Regions from separate parts of the Homo sapiens genome. Here region 2 is linked to region 1. The links are contacts of gene promoters, found by promoter capture Hi-C in human tissues and cell types (Jung and others, 2019). All regions are on one chromosome and are shown on one strand. Each heading gives the region's core, a stretch centred on a gene start or on the middle of the fragment in contact. The rest is flanking DNA. Distances are from core to core; before and after follow the strand shown.

The links. The method cuts DNA at HindIII sites, captures the fragments that hold promoters and counts their contacts. A contact is called where the count stands out against the background at its distance.
Region 2: a fragment that was not itself captured here is called in contact with the fragment with the promoter of NPAS1 in region 1 in 1 of the 25 tissues and cell types used here (dorsolateral prefrontal cortex).

The regions. Positions count from the first base shown.
Region 1 is chr19:47,018,430-47,021,281 of GRCh38, forward strand. NPAS1 (neuronal PAS domain protein 1) reads left to right here and starts at 1,408. Exons shown (of 12, transcript NM_002517.4): 1 at 1,408-1,568; 2 at 2,577-2,740. The coding sequence starts at 2,619. RefSeq lists a silencer at 1,345-1,404. The HindIII fragment of the contact is 24,576 bases long and covers 1-2,424 here.
Region 2 is chr19:46,884,070-46,887,219 of GRCh38, forward strand. The region is part of intron 1 of ARHGAP35 (Rho GTPase activating protein 35); the gene reads left to right. Among named protein-coding and RNA genes, the nearest start is that of ARHGAP35, 25 kb to the left of the region's middle. The HindIII fragment of the contact is 4,791 bases long and covers 1-3,150 here.

The DNA.
Region 1 (2,852 bases), core at 158-2,657:
CTATCACCAGGCTATATCACTTCCCCATGTCTCGGTTTCCCTAGTTGTAAAATGCATCTAGTAACAGAGCCCATCTCAGAATCTTGCTATAAAATAAAGTATTAGCAAAAAACAAGCACTCCCTTAAGTGTTAACTATGAGGATCATGAATGAGTTTGTGTGTTGTGAGCAAATGCACACGGGTGTTTGTGTGTGCCTCAGTTTCCCCATCTGCCCAACCAAAGGCCAGCGCGTGCTCCCTGCAAGCCCCTGACTGTATGCCTCTTCTAAGACTCCCTGCTCCATTTTCTTTTTCTTTTCTTTTCTTTCGAAATGGACTCTCCTTCTCTGACCCGGGCTGGAGCGCAGTGGCGGGATCTCGGCTCACTGCAACCTCCGCCTCCCAGGTTCAAGGGATTTTCCTGCCTCAGCCTCCCGAGTAGCTGGGATTACAGGCGCCCACCACCACACCCGGCTAATTTTTGTATTTTTAGTAGAGACAGGGTTTCACTATGTTGGCCAGGCTGGCCTTGAACTCCTGACCTCGGGTGATCCAACCGCCCTGGCCTCCCAAGGTGCTGGGATTATAGGTGTAAGCCACCGCGCCCGGCCCCAGCTCCATTTTCTTTCCCCATGTTAAGGTCATGTAGAGGCTTTTAAGTGCCTGGAGACCCCCATGCCAGGGAGGACCCTGAGAACGGGAAGTGGGGGCTGCATGGAGAGAAGGAGCTAGGGGAACTGTAGGACCTCCTATCAGACTGGGGAAGGCCTGGCTTGGACGCCTGGGTTCCCGTCCTCTGTGCGAGGTACTACAACCCCTGAGTTCCCATTTATGATCTAATGGGGAGCTTGGATGTAAGGGTTCCCGTCCCTGCGGCGGGGGATGGAGATAAGACGCCAGGATCCTGGTCTCTGGAGCTCCTTAGAGAGCTGGATCCTGGTCCCTGACGAGGGAGGTGTATGTCCCCCTTTTAAGGCGGGTTGGGTTTGGATGCGAAGTCCCAGCCCTGTGGGGGGAGAGTGTGCTGACACTCAGGAGTTCTCTCCCGGAAAGGGAGGGTCTCGAATTCTGGATTTGTGTCCCTGGAGGAAGCACTGACGTGAGTCTTCACTCGTACATGGGGCTCGGCTGCAGGGTACCTGTCTTGTCCCGAGGGGCTGCTGGGGCACTAACTGCCTCCTGAAGGGGTGTAGACAGTGCCCGGACTCCGCTGTTCCCCTTTTGGAGTGGGGTAGCTCCGATCCGAGGTGCTACATTCTGACCCCCGACGTTACCGTGGGGCAAGGGAACTCGGACCCCAGGGTAGCTTGGCCCCCTACCAGGGAAAGGCGAGCAGGGCGGGTCCGGGGGCGGAGACGCGGCGGGCGGGGCTCCGGCAGACCCCGCCCCCGCCCGCAGCGCTGGTCGCGCGTCTCCAAGTCTGCGAGGCCGAGGTGGGCGCCGAGAGCTGGGCGCCACAGCCCGCGCGTCCCGCTGCGCCCCGCGCGCCCCGGGGTCTATGGAGCTGCCCCTCCGCGCCGCCCGGCCGGCCCCACGCCGCGCCCGGAGCCTGCTCTGCGGCCAAGTAATCGGACTGGCGGTCCTGCGGGTAGGGGAAGCTTGCGGGCTGGCAGGAGGGGGACTTCTGGGTCCCAGAGGAATGGGGGGCTGGAACTCCAGTGTCCTGGGGGATAGGGGGTGGGACGAGGGTATCCCGAGCCTGGGGGAAGGGGCGCACGGATGTTTGAGTCCTGGAGAAATCTGGGGTTGGGAGACCTGGACACGGGGGTCTGGGGCATCTGGACACCTGGCTGGGAGGTTTGGGGGCGGCCTGGTTCCTGGGGTTAGGGGGTGTTCTGAACGCCTGGTCCTGGAGGAATGAAGACCTAACTGAAAACGTTAGGGGATCAGGAGACCAGGACACCTGGGCCCCGAGTGTCGGGTCAATCCTGGGGGCGTCCTGGGGCAGAGGCTGCGGCGGCTGCGTCCGGGGCTGGGGCTCGCGCGCCGGGGTCTTCAGGGAGGAAGTTGTGGTCGTGGGGATGTGGCGGTCCGAACACGTGGCGCCATCCCGAGAGGCTGGGGGGATCCCTGGGCAGGACACAGGATGGGGGTCCCTGCCCTCTGCCCCCTGCCTCCTTAGCCCAGCCGGGAAAACAGGGTGCAGATCCGGGGAGTCAGACACCGGGGATGGGCTTGGGGGGCGGGTCCTCGGGGCAGAGGGCTCCGGGGGCTGGGGCGTGCGTGCCTGGCCCGGGAGGCGCCCGCCCCCCGCCCGGCTTGGGCATGCTTGGCACGCAGCGCGCGGGCCGGTTCGATCCGTATGCGCGCCGCGTGCGCCCATTGGTATGCGGGAGCCGGCCCGGCGCGGGCGTGAGGCGGGCGCGCTGGCGGGCGGCGCGGGGGAGGCGGCGGCGGGGCACGTCCTCACCCGGAGCGCCAGCCCCGGGCCGGCTAGGGTGGGAGCTGAGGCCTCCAGGTAGGGGAAACTGAGGCATCATCCAGGCCCCCCCCCCCCCAGCTCCTTGCTGGGACCCTGAGCCCTGCACGGATCTCAGTTTCCCTAGAAGGTCTCCCGAGGGCACTAAGCGTTGCCCCTGGCCCCCTCCCGCTGCAGGAGACTCGGGGCTCGGAGCCCGCCTGAGCGAGCCCCCCGGAGATGGCGGCCCCCTATCCCGGCAGTGGCGGCGGAAGCGAGGTCAAATGCGTGGGAGGCCGCGGCGCCAGCGTCCCCTGGGACTTTCTACCCGGGCTGATGGTCAAGGCGCCGTCCGGACCGTGGTGAGCAAAGCCCCGCCCCCCTGGCCGCGGGCCCCCCCCCGGGTCCAATTCACACCCGATGTTCTGTCCCCGTGCCAAGGGGCAGTTCACACCCAGCTCCCTGACCCGCCCC
Region 2 (3,150 bases), core at 404-2,903, 130 kb before region 1:
GCCTATACGAGTTTACTAGTTTTTAGCTTTGTCAAGGAGAGAATTTAAAAAAGAAAAATTATTCCCACCATTATTTCATAAAAAGTAGGATCTAGGCTGGCCATGGTGGCTCACATCTGTAATCCCAACACTTTTGGAAGCGAAGGCAGGAGGATTACTTGAGCCCAGGAGTTGGAGGCTACAGTAAGCAATGATTGTGCCAACTACACTCCAGCCTGGGCAACAAAAACAACAACAACAAAAAGGATCTAACTTCAGAATAAAGGATATCCCTTCCCAAGGAAACTAGCTGCCTTATAGGGACATATGTAGGTATATACTTATAATTCTCATTTTAAACATAAACTGAGGAAAACTGCCACAGGCCAGCTGTTTAACTTTTTGGGGCCTTAGTTTTCTCATCTATAAAATAATGATGATATCCTTTTTTTTTTTTTTTTTTTTTTTCCCCTTTTGAGATAGGGTCTCTTGTCCAGACTGGAGCGCAGTGGCATGCTCACAGCTCACTGCAGCCTCGACTTCCTGGGCTCAGATGATCCATCTCAGTGTCCCTAATAGCTAGGACTACAGGCATGTGCCACCATGTTGTATTTTTTTTGTAGAGATGGAGTTTTGCCATGTTGCCCCAGCTGGTCTTGAACTCCTGGGCTCAAGCAATTCCCCCGCGTAGGCCTCCCAAAGTACTAAGATTACAGGTTTAAGGGCTAGAGTGCAGTGGCATGATCATGGCTTGCTACAGCCTCGACTTTCTGGGCTCAAATGATCCTCCTGCCTCAGCTGAGACTACAGGTGCGCACCCACCATGCCTGGCTACTTTTTAAAATTTTTAGTAGACATGAGATCTTGCTATGTTGCCCAGGCTGGTCTCAAACCCCTGGCCTCAAGTGATCTTCCTGCCTTGACCTCCCAACGTGTTGGGATTATAGGCTTGAGCCACTGTGCCTGGCCCAGGGGTCTATATCTAAATCCTAAAGCTTGCGGAAGTTCTTTCAGCTGTCCCCATGGCTTTGGGCATTATGAATAATAATCCATAGGACATAATTGGAAGGTGTTTCAGCTTAGGATGGATTGGACTTTTGAAAAGCGCCCCTTCTTATAGTCAACACAACATCTCATTCCCCTGTGAACTCACCCTTAGGGAAATCATTTTACTTTTGGACAAGTGAGACCAGATCCTCAGAGATAGTTTGTGACTCTTGCAATAATAATAGCAAATATTTCCTTAATCTTTTCTATATGCCAGGCACTGTATTATGTACTTTACATGTATTAACTCAAGGAATCCACATAACAACCCAATGAAGTAGGTACTATCCTTGTACCCATTACTCAGAATAGGAAACAGGCCATGCATGCTAGGTGATGTAAGCTAAGGATTCAGAGGAAGGAGAATAATAAATTACCCCCACTTAGAAAGTACTGGTCTGGGTTTGTGTGCTCTCTCTTCTGCCCACCTCCCTCCTCTCTCTCTGGCCCTACTTGTTTTTATTAATGTGGGGTTAATGCCGGTGATTTCATATACTAACCTTGATCATTGGGAAATGTTTCTCTCACGGGAAGGTATTTGGATGGGCATAGTACATTCTTTGGTTTGTCTTCTTGATCTCTAGTTTAGCTTACTTGTTAAAGATTTCCAGAATGATCTAGCAGTTAATTCCAGTTCCATTTTCCCCTCCACCTTTTTATTTTTAGTGAGGTCCTAATTGGATTTTTTTAATCTTAATTTTTTTAATTTTTACCTTTTTAGAGATGAGTTCTCACTATGTTGCCCAGGCTGGACTCGAATTCCCAGGCTCAAGCAATCCTCCCGCCTCAGGCTCCTGAGTAGCTGGGGCTACAAGTGTGTGCCACTGCACCCAGCTATAAATAGATTTTTATAATGTGATTTTTAAATTTTAGGGTATTAAGCTTATCTTAAAGTACAATCAAAGCCTGTCACCCATTTCATTTCTCTAATGCCTCCTTGAAGTATTTTGCTTTTGACTTCGGGGAAGAGCCTTGGAGATTGGGTACTGCATGATGCTGCAGGGAGGCCAGTGGTTTATGTTGTCGTCGTCCGTCCTGGAGTGCTTGCCTTAATGCTGCTCATTTCAAATGCCTCCTCTCTGTTTCCAAGGTTGAATTAGCATCAGGTCTTCTTTTACATCAGCCTTGTCTAATATAACTTTCTGTGTTATTCATTATGGTAACCACCAGTCACGTGTTGCTACTTGAAATGTAGCTAGTGGGGCTGAGAAACTAAATTTAAAATTTTTATTATTATTAGTTTAACTTTAAATGGCCAAAGTAGTGCAGATCTAGACTATGCTCCGTAAGGGAGGTTTTTTTTTTCTTTTCTTTTTTTCCTACTTCTAATTCTGACATAGGGCTGTGCTCTTTATGTATTTGTTAAATGCTTTCACTAGCTGAAATACAAGGAAAGTTAAAGTATTCCTTAAAGTCTTCCTCCCAGGGAAAACCGTTGTTAATAGTTGTATTTTTTAACTGTAGGATAAATTGCCAGTTTTTATTATCATTACAGTGATTCACCCTTGATTCTAGGGATCGGGCGTTACTCAAGGTTGTTGTAGATTTGGGAGTTTTAGGAGATGGAGGAGGCTTAGAATGCAGGTTATAAATGTAACAGAAAGAAGTATGACTAATACTGGTAAAAGTGTCTTTATAATGATTGTTGCGATATGATTGAATTTCTATCCTAATGCTTAAGAATCCTTAGTGAAAATGTGGGAAAGAGGATGAATCACTGTTTTCTCCCTTCCCAAATCCCAGATGATTTTGCTAGAATTTTAAGGATGGATTGAGTGTTCAGGTGATTTTGTCTTGACTTCTTGGGTTGGTTGGGATCTTTAAAGAGAGAGAGATTAAAAAGGATTTACTACTAGCAAAACTGAAAAAGCAGAAACATGTCTGCTTGAATTTTGAGTTTCTTTTCTCTTTGATAGTGGAAGCAGCATCTTAGGCCAGGTTCATTTTGTAACTGGTGTGGGTGTATGTATGCATGTGTACATCCGTCTCATGTTTGTTAAATTTTCTTGACTCCCTAACAGTTGTTTGTACTCCACATCATCAGTTTTGGTACCTTCTACTCGTTACTGAAAGGATATATTTACCTTCTCAGTGGGTTGGTGAAGATGGGGGGTGGGGGAGCAT